Regions from separate parts of the Homo sapiens genome. Here region 2 is linked to region 1. Evidence: promoter capture Hi-C in 16 types of primary human blood cells and fetal thymus (Javierre and others, 2016). All regions are on one chromosome and are shown on one strand. Each heading gives the region's core, a stretch centred on a gene start or on the middle of the fragment in contact. The rest is flanking DNA. Distances are from core to core; before and after follow the strand shown. Region 1 holds the start of EMP1 (epithelial membrane protein 1). Region 2 overlaps GSG1 (germ cell associated 1).

Region 1 (6,108 bases), core at 3,115-5,614:
TCAACTTCCGAAAGCAAGAAGACAAGTGTCTCGCCTGTGGTTACATGGCAGCGTCAAGATAACACCACTGCCCCTCTGTCTTCCTAGTCAGCTGTCTTACATCTGCTCCAGGATTCTTGCCACGCTTTCAACCTGTGCTGAAAGGGCTCTCTAGTTTAACTACCCGGTTTGAAGAAACAATTCATGAAACAGGCTCAGCAAATAGAAAAACTGTCACAGCCACGTAAGTCCAAGCGCACCAACAGCAGAGGATTCCATTGCAGTTCCAGGGAAATGCCATCTCCACAACACAAAAGAAAACCTTGACCCAAACATTTTGTTAAAAAGGAAGAGAGAAGCAGCAATCACCACAGGTGTTTGTGCTTTCATCTTTCTGCTTTAGTATCAGTGAATCTCCCAGGTAAATTGAAGGAAATGGTTTTACCCAGGCAGGACACCAGGGACTGAATTGTTGCAAAGAGCAGTCTCAGGACGTGTGTATGTCGGGGCTGGGTGCTGAAGATTCAAGTAAACCCCTAACTGGAACCATATTTGGGCTTCCTTGATTACTGAATAGCAAGTGCAGTCCAGAAATTCAAGATCACCTGGGCGGATCTGGGAAGAGTATTAGAAAAGGGAAGCTTATGGTGAGAAAATTCCCGTTCTACGCTGGTTAAGGGTTAGGAGCTCTTCTCAAGGGGCTGATACCCAGATTGCTGGCCAGCAATTACAAGGAGGCTACATTTGATGGGCAGCCTGTTCCCGTAATTACTATGATGGGTGGTGACAATGTATAGGTGTGGGCTACATGAACTATGGACCAAATTATGGGACAATCCCCAAAAGGCCTAGCTAGAAGCCTGTGTCCTGGTATTGGATTGATCTAACCATGACCTAGTAGGTAGCAACACTGGGTGTGTCCCTCCGAGTATGTACATCTGAGAGTCCCAAATAGGCCTGAGCTTTTGTGTTAGGCAGCTATGTACATACATGTGGGAGGTTAAAGAAGGAACCATATTCATGCATTTAGAAAATTAAATACCTCCAAATCAAAAACCCCGTGAGTATGATTGACTATGTACATAATTCCAAACTTCAAAAATGCTCCCTGCCCTTCTGAGCCTTAGGCAAAAAAAAAAAAAAAAAGAAGAAGAAGAAGAAGAAGAAAAGATAATGCAATGTAGATCCATCAAGTTGTATTCATTAAATATTAAATAGGCGTTAAGTGTTTAGAGGATGAGAATCATTGGGTGGAGCAACAACAAAACCAGAATAGATATTTTCTGAGTTGTTTCAGGCCAGCAGAATCAGGAAGTTATAAGGAAGTTGATTTTGCTTGATTTAAGGAACTTTAATAAAATTAGAGTTGGCCTGCTAAGGGGAATGAGTGTGGAGGTACACACTGAGGTTCTGAGCTCCCCGCATCTGGAAATTTTAAGATCTGTAGGATGGCCATCTGTTCAAGATGGTGTAAAAATTAGATTTCTGCATACAGTAGGAGAATGAATGAGATCCAAGATCCCTCCCAAATTTAGAATTCTGTGAACGAAATGAAGGATGAAATGGAACTGACTTGCCTCCTGCCCTTTCCTGTGTCCACGTTTCAGTTATGTGCCCCACCAGGCTCCATAGAGTCTACAGAAAAGCAGTCTTGCCTCATCCACAAGTTTTCCCCGGTCTTCAACGTGTCTCTCTCCAGTAGTCCCTGTGGGTCTGGCACTACCTGAAATCCCTAGAGCCACCCAGAGCAAGCCAAGAGGGTCTACATTCCCGGGTGAGGGGTCTCCATGAAGCCCACTGACAAGGCTGGGAACTTGATGGGCCTAATCTGGTCTCTGGAGGAAGCAGGAAGGGCTGAGGAAGGCACAGTGAGTCCTTTCCACTCTCCACAGAAGGGATCTCTTTCCTTTCCCCAGCGGTCTGCCCAGCAGTCCTGGGAGATAGCCAGATTCTAAGGATGTGATTTGCTCCAAGTTGGTTCTTGATGGCCTTTTGCCAACTCCCAAGACAGTTTAGTACCCACAAACAATGTAAATGTGGGGGGCCCTCTGACCAGGGCGCCAGACAGGATGTCCTGCAGCCCCCGCCCCCGCCCCATTCTTCGGAGTCTGGGTGGAATTGGATCTGCCCCTGAGGGTGGGAGGCAGCGGGCAGAGTGGGGGGGAAAAATAACCCTCACATTTCGGGATTGTCAAAGCTGAAATCCAGAAAAACTCTCACAGCTAAGGGACTCTTTCACTACTTCTTGGAGGAAGAGCAGAGAGCAGGAATCAGAACGGTATTTTTCTAAATTGTCTTCAAACTCCAGGAAGTAACATGTAGCATATTTTCTCCTTTATAAACCTACAGTATCATGTGAAACCTTGCCACAAATAATGCAGTTCATGATGGTTTACACTCCCAACATTGTCAGGGCTTTCCGTGTGTTGACTGGTTATTAGTTTTAACCTGCACAGAACTAAAAGATTTGTATAATTTTCACAGGATATTAACACTATTGATTTAATAATGGCTAATCCACATCCATGTAATGTGGAAATAATAAACATGTGAAGCAAATGTAGGAGTTCCCTTCATCTTGAAAAGTTGCCCTGATGCCTACTCAATCGTCCCCCTTGGGGCAGTTTTACAAGGAGCATTGCCTGCTCAACACAGGGTTGATTACATGTAACTTCTCTCCCAACGTACTGCCTTTCTAAAGGAAAAGCCTAACTTTGTCAGACAAGCTGAATCCTGTCATTCTCATCTTGTTTACTTGGGGAAAAAATATACCAGTGTCTATGTTGAAATGGGCCACACCTCGGTAGACACTCACCCAAAATGCTAACCGAAAAAAAGAAAAAAAGAAAAAAAAGAAAAAGCACCCTTCTTCATTCCTCCAGATTTCATGATTAGCATGAGTGTTTGCATTTATACAATCACATTTCGGGAACAAGAGAAAAGATAAGCATTTCAAAACAATCACTGCCTTCCATGCAAAGAAATTCCACATCCACTTTCTTTTAAAAGTTCTTTTATCGTTTCTGGTATGCCATCTTTTCACTCAGCACTGAAAGGCAGCTCTTTCTGGGGTGAAAGCACAAAGCCACTCAACAATTTTTAACAGGCACAGATGAAGTTCTCCTGCCCCACCCTCTTCTCCAAACCCAGCTTCCCTTTTGCCTCCCCCGCCCTCCACATCTGGCCAAGAGAAGGCATCTGGAATCCTCATCAGCTCCTGCTTCGACCAAGTGAACCCCTCCCACGTTTCATTTAAAACACCATTTGCCTCCCTCTCTTTCTCTCTCTAACAGTTTTCTTTTTTCATTTTTTTTCTTTTTCTTTTTTTTCCTTTTTGAGACAGAGTCTCACTCAGCTGCCCAGGCTGGAGTGTAGTGGCGCAATCTCAGTTCACTGCAACCACCATCTCCCGGATTCAAGCAATTCTCCCGTCTCAGCCTACCAAGTAGCTAGAATTACAGGCACCTGCCATCATGCCTGGCTACTTTTTGTATTTTAGTAGAGACAGGGTTTCACCATGTTGGCCAGGCTTGTCTTGAACTCCTGACCTCAGGTGATCCGCCCGCCTCAGCCTCCCAAAGTGCTAGGATTACAGGCATGAGCCACCGTGCCCGGCCAACAGTTTTCTTTAAACAAACCAATCCCCCTCTTCCCATCCTGTGAGGAGAAAAAAAATACTTAAATTTAAACAGAAGTGAATAGGGAAGCAAACAGGCAGGAAAAGCAATGTCAAAAATAAACTGAAAACCAGTTATCTATCCACCACCACCCAAAAAATCCCAACCAACAACCAGCGAGCAGAGTAACAGTTCAAGTCCTGAAGCAATCGGAATCAAAACGGAGGAGGTGAAAAACATCTGGCCAGTTCCCGATGTCATTTCCAAGGTGTGTGGTGTTTCCTCCATAAACAGGATCCTATCCCAGTTTGTTTCAAAGTCCCTGCTCCCTCCACATCCTAGAACAAGAACCCGGTCACTGCCAGGCACGATTTTAGCCCCATCCCATTGATTTCCCCAGACTCCGTCCTCAAAATACACTTTTCTGAACTTTCTAGAAAAAGTTGTCTCTGTATCCACTTTGAGCCAAAAGTTTCAAGGACTTGGTTCTTAGAGGATCATAGAAAAATAGCGAAGGAAGAAAAGAAAAAGCAAAACTAAGATGAGGTCAGAAGAAGCAGAGCCGTGGAAAGGAAGGAGAAGTTTTGCTGAGAGTCCCCACAGCGTTGGGAGCTGTCCTACCTGAAGGGTCCCAGCGACAGAGGCGCTCTGAGTGGCAGGTGCTGGCAGCAGCCCTGGTCCGCTCTTCTGGAAGTATGTGACCGCACTGAGGGGAAGGACCTGCCTCCCGAGGTTATAAGTTTCCTCTGCTGGTGTACTGGGGTGTGTAATGGGCGGTTTCTTTTCACCGTGTTTTAAAGGAGTTTCTATGAATCAGTCTGGCTTTAAAAAAAAAAAAAAGATTTGTTGGTAAGCTACGCCCTGCTAAGCTGGCAGTCAGTCAAGAGTGGCTGGGAGTGAGCCATCAATTCAAAGAACCCTGTTGTAGGCTCTCTCTGACTCAGACACACAGACCACAGTGGAAAAAAGGAGGGACATTGCTTCAAATGAGTAACAGGATCACACAAATAGATCTGTTTACTGAAGCCCATTCCTCCTCACCAAAAAGGAGACTTGGTTACCATGGACATAAGGCAAAACACAAGGTTTCAGCCTGGGAGGGGGAGGAAAGGGGCCAGTGTCCTGCTGACTGAAGTCCTAGGTCATCATCAAGCGAGATTCCCAGTCTTCCTCCCCCATTAAAAGCATCAGCTGCTGCTCACTGTCAGGAATTATCAGATTCCTTTTTTTATTTACTTCCCTGCCTGACCCTGGTGCACTGTCCTGTGGGTGGCTGTACAGGGAGGCCCTGAAGGCGAAGGGGACACACTAGGAGCTCTTGCAGCCCTGCCTCTGAGTGATGGAGCACTGATTGAACAGCAGAGAATTCCTGGTCTTTCATTATGCTCTGCTAGTGCCCGTGTGGACTCTCCACATTCCAGGAGGAAGTCCTCTAGTTAAGAACTTTGCTCTCTGTAATAATCAGCTGGACCTTGTTCTACAATTGACTTTCTTGAACTTGGCCAGTAGCATAATCATCCCTACTACCTCCCTGCACCACTCCTCTCTCTCTCTCAACTCTGGAGCTGGGAGAGGCCTGTGAAGTCATCTCATCCCACAGCCCAGGCATTCCACTGGAGAGAGTAAAAGCCCAGATGCCTGAGTTCAAGCCCAGCTCTCCACAAATTTGCTGTGTGACTTTAGGCAAACCACTTAACTTCTCCATGCCTATTTTCTCATGCATAAAATGGAGATGGCAGGTATGTAACTCATAGAGCTATGATGAGAAATACACATATAGGGGCTCATGGCAGTGTGCATAGTGAGCGCTCAACAAATCTTAGCTACAAGGATTATTTTACTGAAGAAGCAGCTCAGGCCCAGAGAGGTGAAGTGACTTATTCAAGGAGATACAGTACGTTACCAGTAGCAGCTTGGATCTAGGTCAGCACATCCAAGCAATTCTATTTCTGTTATTCTCTGCTGCACCCTGACAACTTATTTCAATTCAAAATATGCGTGTGTAGTATTTATTCATTCATTCTGCCAATACAGGCTGCACGTCAGTCTTCACTGGGCCTGATTCAGAGCACTGAGTCACAGAAGTGAATGACATCCCTGCCTCTTGGAACTTATATTCCCTAAAAAGATAGAAAACAGACTGGTGGCTATTCACCAAAATGTTGATCAAATTCGATGATAAAATTATGGATGCAGTTTAGTTTGTTCTGGTCACAATTCTGTATTTTCCAAATCCTCTGCAATGAACCTATATTACTGTCTTTAGGATGTTGGCATGTGGATGGATGGATTTTAGGAAAAAATATTTTAACATGGGAATGTGGAGAATATTTTCTAAGGTGGATGATAAGGAAAACACAACACACACACACACACACACACACAATGATTTGATGATGCTGCATCTTCACAAGTCCCTGAGAACTGAATTCTATCTCTGTAAAAGTAAGAAGGTCTGGATTTTCTCACTGAAAACTGATGACGTGATAAAAGACTGCATGTTTCTCATAGA
Region 2 (5,868 bases), core at 2,719-5,218, 110 kb after region 1:
AGGAATTAAAAAAATGTGTGTATTTACATTTATATTTATTATTGTGCCACTTAGCACTGCTCCATCCCCAGTCCTGGAAACAATTTAGAGCCCTTCGGTCCAGTGGTACAGCGGCAGCAAAAGGTATTAGTTAACACTAAGATCATTAACTCTTCTGGACACGGGAAATGGGAACACTAAGCTATGTAGGTGCTCTCATGGAAACATCTTCTGCATTATCAGAGACTGAAGAGAGAAATTCACCTGGGCTGACTCTTGGCTGTGCCATTCATTCACCCAGGCATTCTTTCCTGCTTTCCTGCTCTATGCGGGGCAGGTGCTGTCAGAGCAGAGGGAGCAGTACCAGTTATGGGGTGGGGAAGGTTTTCATTCCAACCATCCCAGGGAGTAGCTCCATGACGTTGTACCTTGTATGTTTCAGGGGAGAGGTGCCGAAGTTTCATTGAACTTACACCACCAGCCAAGAGAGGTGAGAAAGGACTACTGGAATTTGCCACGTTGCAAGGCCCATGTCACCCCACTCTCCGATTTGGAGGGAAGCGGTTGATGGAGAAGGCTTCCCTCCCCTCCCCTCCCTTGGGGCTTTGTGGCAAGTATGTGTCTGATAAGGAATTTACAGTAGTTACCATTGACTTGGGCCTCTCCGGATCTAAACTGCACTGTGATCTCCCACTTTTCTCTTCTGAGCCCCAAAGGGTGACACAAATTCCTCCTTGAGCTGACTTTCATTCATATGCAGGAATGCAAAAACAGAACAGCAGGGATAAATAAGATTCACAAATAGAAAACCACCAACAGTGCTAACCTACTCTTGTTGCCAAGTAACCATGTAGGAAGGCTTAGCTTTTTCCTCCTTTTTCTCCACTATTATTATTATTATTTGGTAAAATGAAAGGAAAAGAGTGAAGAAGGGAGGCAGGGAGGGAACCACCCCAAAATTAAATGAGGAAAAAGACAAAAAATGATAACTAGAGCAACATTATTTCCCTGCAGGATTTATGAAAATTCGATGATTTCTTCTCAAATCTCCCCAACAGTATTTACAGTCAGTCAAGCTTACTTGGGTATATATTGGTTATGGAGTGGGAGCTGTGAGTGACGTCAAAGGACTAGAAATGAAGTAATGTTCCTCCCTGGTTTCAGCTGTGCCTCATTCTCCCCTTCTCAGATGCTGCTAGGGTCTTAACTCCTAATAGGCATCCTATGCTCACCGCTTATTCAGTTTTTTAACTGTCAGGGTGAGCGCTCCCTCTTCCTCTGGTTTCTGGCAGAAATCCTATGGTTATCCCTGGGAACGCAGATCACCTACATCGGACTTCAATTCATCAGCTTCCTCCTGCTACTAACAGACTTGCTACTCACTGGGAACCCTGCCTGTGGGCTCAAACTGAGCGCCTTTGCTGCTGTTTCCTCTGTCCTGTCAGGTGAGTTGCTCCTGGAGTGAGAGAGGGTGGTTGGCCCTGGCCACTTTTGAAGCCCTAGCTGGAGGGCTTGAGTCTTTGCCCTGAAGGGGAGGAGCCCAAAGGCTCTTTAAAGAATGGAGGTAGGCATCTTTAATTTTAAATTGAAGTAACATACAAAATTGTATATTGGATCACCGTGTACTTTACAAAATGATTTACCTCTAGGTTCCTTTATTTGCAAGCTTTCTCAATATGTAAAATCTATTGTTTGGGTTACTTTTCAGTTGTGACATACACACAGCTTTTCAAGACCAGTCTCCATTGGATAAAGTGAAAGATGCACATATAAGATGAAGAATTAAGCCAACATTGGGGTGTGGGTGGGAAGGAGTAGGGGTGGTGTGCAGTGGCCTTGGGTGCAGCCTTGACTCAGACTTTTTCCATAGCTCTCAGCCTACAGTCTGGGGTCACCTATTGCAAAGATGTGTATTTAAGGAGAAGCCCCCATTGTGAATTAGTCTTCGGGAAATGTGGTGGCATAGGGTAATGGGCTACTCCAACAGAGGCTGCGCCTGACTGCAAGAAGGGTGATCCAAAATCGTACTCCTGGCAGATGGCATGAAAGCCTTTCTCTAAGGGCTCTGCCTTCCTGTTTCCTTGGTAGGTCTCCTGGGGATGGTGGCCCACATGATGTATTCACAAGTCTTCCAAGCGACTGTCAACTTGGGTCCAGAAGACTGGAGACCACATGTTTGGAATTATGGCTGGGCCTTCTAGTAAGTGCTGTCATCTCCTGAACCTTTGTAGCCCCAGCCAACCTTCACGAGATTTTCTGCCCTCAGCTAGATGCTTATTCGGTGAAGCCCTGCCTTCTCTTCATCCCTCATCCCAAGAGCCTGTCAACCACACAGGGCTGCATCATCAGGGCACATCCATTCTTCCCTGCCTTCTGAGGGGGTACAGGAAGGATTCCTCGAGTGTGTCTTGGGAGGATGTTATTTTGTCCAGTTTTCCTGCTCATCAGCTGTGGCAGTTGCCTCTTTACCTGGTATATTTGTCACCCTGGGGAAACAAGACTGATTCTGTAGGCCTTATAGAAATGTGCTCTTTTTTTTTCTTTTTTTTATGATTCAAGGTATTAGAGAACAGAGAAATAGAGAAATCGCTTTGAAATTTGGATTGAATTGCATTCTCTGTAAATGGCTTACTCCTCTCCTCTTCACTTCCTTCTATATCCATTTTTATTCTACTGAACCGTGTTGGAAATAAAACTTCACTACCCTAGGGTCATTCTCTAACCCTTAAAGAACTAAGGGGTCAGTCATTTTAGAGTTCTCTTAAAAAGAGAGCGACAGCAACCATCACAAAGCAACACATTCAAGTTAAATATTATCTTTGAGAGCTCTTACTTTCTCCCTTAAGGAGCACTCTTTATTCACAGCAAGTTGCCAACTTGTACTGATATTTACTGTCTAAGTGCTAAGTACTTTGAGAGCACTGAAAAGACACAGTGATGGGCTCAAGTTTCCATTCGGGGAAGGAAGCCTGCAAGTCTGTTGTGAGGCCCTATCCCCTTTCCTGTGGTACAATCTGCGCTAATAATTTGGGAGTCTGAGTCTACTACACCAGCCAGGGCATCAGCTCAATGCAGCTCCCAGATCCAGCACTTCTCACCTTTTGTCTGTCTTCAGGCCATTCTTGGCATTAACGGCTGTGGAGCTCAGGCTAGGCAACGCCCATTAGTCAACTCCCAGAAGCATCCCAGACTGAACCTACTGCATTTGTCAGAGGCAGCAGATATGAACACACAGTGCCCGCATGTGACCTGGCTTTAACCATCACTTGGCCTCATGAAATCCCTCCCTAACCTCACAAAACTTCCTGTTTCCTGAGCTTCCCAGAACCACAGGGAGATTTAGGGATTTGACTTTCCAAGTTTTCAGGAATGTGTTTAATATGGTTGCCTAATGTCTTCTTTTCCTTTCTTGAATCCATCCACATTCTCTTAATCTCCAGCTCCTCTCCCACCCATTACAAACTCCCTTAAGCCAAAACCACACTGTTTCCATATGAAGCAAATTCCACTAGTACAACCTATAATACCTCCTGATTTGTAGTAAATGTTTTCCTGAATGACTTTCAGAGGCTCACCTTTTTGGACCCTAAGACTGCTAAGTTCAAAACAAAGGAAGATGGAAGAGGGATGATTCCTCCCAGCATCTGAGTGGGGGGACATCTTTGGCAGGGCATGTGTGTGTGTGTTGGGGTGGGAGAGGGAGGGTATGCAGTAGGTTATGTCCACTGCATACAGCTCAGCTTCAGGCCTGGGGAATCTTGGAGATTTTACAAGGGTCAATGCAGCTTGGGAAACAGGAGTCCAAATATGCACAGACATACACACACAATAGGCACACCAGATAGAAAAGGGCATGGCACCGACAACTCATCAATTCAGTGAAAACAAATCCATTAAGCTCCTTGTCTGATACTAGGACTACATGAGTCATTCTCTTTTTAGAAACCAGTAAGTTCTCTTCCCACAGTTCTTTACCTGAAACATGGTGGAAAGTCCCTAAATCCCTACAAGGCAATAAGCTAGTCCACTAGTAGGAAGAGGTCATGGCATTTTTCTCTCAAGAAAGTCCTATTCTTACTGTCCAATCTTTTTGTGCATTTGTCCCTAGCATGGCCTGGCTCTCCTTCACCTGCTGCATGGCGTCGGCTGTCACCACCTTCAACACGTACACCAGGATGGTGCTGGAGTTCAAGTGCAAGCATAGTAAGAGCTTCAAGGAAAACCCGAACTGCCTACCACATCACCATCAGTGTTTCCCTCGGCGGCTGTCAAGTGCAGCCCCCACCGTGGGTCCTTTGACCAGCTACCACCAGTATCATAATCAGCCCATCCACTCTGTCTCTGAGGGAGTCGACTTCTACTCCGAGCTGCGGAACAAGGGATTTCAAAGAGGGGCCAGCCAGGAGCTGAAAGAAGCAGTTAGGTCATCTGTAGAGGAAGAGCAGTGTTAGGAGTTAAGCGGGTTTGGGGAGTAGGCTTGAGCCCTACCTTACACGTCTGCTGATTATCAACATGTGCTTAAGCCAACATCCGTCTCTTGAGCATGGTTTTTAGAGGCTACGAATAAGGCTATGAATAAGGGTTATCTTTAAGTCCTAAGGGATTCCTGGGTGCCACTGCTCTCTTTTCCTCTACAGCTCCATCTTGTTTCACCCACCCCACATCTCACACATCCAGAATTCCCTTCTTTACTGATAGTTTCTGTGCCAGGTTCTGGGCTAAACCATGGAGATAAAAAGAAGAGTAAAATACACTTCCCGACCTTAAGGATCTGATACATCTAGTTATTGGTCTGGAAATTGGAGAAATGGAGGTGAGCAAATTAACGGTAGTGTGACTGTGGCTCAACTTTCCATGGTACGCGCGAATTGTTCTGGAAGTCACAGATGGGAAGACAGAAGCGCCCCTGAGTGCTTTGTCATATAGCACAGAAGTCCTCCACACTGCCTGGGACAGTGTCCTGCATCCACACAGTAGGTACCCAGTAAAAGTGTTATTAAATATTGTCCCAGGAGCCCTTAGGAGAGTGGTTTAACATGAGAAGGCGCCAACAGCACACAGGGTCAGGGTCACTTCTAGAAATAGCCCACCAAGGCTATTCAGATTGGACTGTGGTTCCCTTCTGGACAGTCACACCAGGGACTTCCCAGTGAACAAGGGGGCATAGGCTCCTCTCTGGATCCCACCTTTTCATCCCTTCTGAGAAATGTACCCTATTATTTCCTTCATAAAGAATGCCACCCATCTGATTCCTCAAGAATCTAGACCTAGAAATACCATTTGACCCAGCCATCCCATTACTGGGTAGATACCCAAAGGATTACAAATCATGCTGCTATAAAGACACATGCACACATATGTTTATTACGGCACTATTTATAATAGCAAAGACTTGGAACCAACCCAAATGTCCATCAGTGATAGACTGGATTAAGAAAATGTGGCACATATACACCATGGAATACTATGCAGCCATAAAGAAGGATGAGTTTATGCCCTTTGTAGGGACATGGATGAAGCTGGAAACCATCATTCTGAGCAAACTATCGCAAGGATAGAAAACCAAACACTGCATATTCTCACTCACAGGTGGGAATTGAACAATAAAAACACTTGGACACAGGGTGGGGAACATCACACACCGGGCCTGTCATGGGGTGGGGGGAGGGGGGAGGGATAGCATTAGGAGATATACTAACGTAAATGACGAGTTAATGGGTGCAGCACACCAACATGGCACATGTATACATATGTAACAAATCTGCACGTTGTGCACATGTACCCTAGAACTTAAAAAAAAAAAAAAAAGAATGCCACCCATCTACTTGCCCGTTCTCTTTTCCATATGGGGAAACAAACCATCCTTGATGACTAAGACGAATGAGAATG

Evidence for each region. Contacts are between HindIII fragments. The CHiCAGO score rates a contact against its expected background, and 5 or more counts as called.
Region 2: a contact is called between a fragment that was not itself captured here and the fragment with the promoter of EMP1 in region 1, in 4 of 17 cell types (monocytes, M2 macrophages, naive CD4 T cells and 1 more). The highest score is 8.2, in monocytes.

The regions. Positions count from the first base shown.
Region 1 is chr12:13,194,982-13,201,089 of GRCh38, reverse strand. EMP1 (epithelial membrane protein 1) reads right to left here and starts at 4,364. Exons shown (of 5, transcript NM_001423.3): 1 at 4,218-4,364. RefSeq lists an enhancer at 1,824-2,324. The HindIII fragment of the contact is 10,564 bases long and covers 623-6,108 here.
Region 2 is chr12:13,083,463-13,089,330 of GRCh38, reverse strand. GSG1 (germ cell associated 1) reads left to right here. Exons shown (of 7, transcript NM_001080555.4): 3 at 55-123; 4 at 422-469; 5 at 1,272-1,424; 6 at 2,068-2,179; 7 at 4,088-5,799. The coding sequence ends at 4,430. Among named protein-coding and RNA genes, the nearest start is that of GSG1, 17 kb to the left of the region's middle. RefSeq lists enhancers at 1-70, 71-893, 894-1,715, 1,716-2,538, 3,528-4,727. The HindIII fragment of the contact is 4,641 bases long and covers 1,648-5,868 here.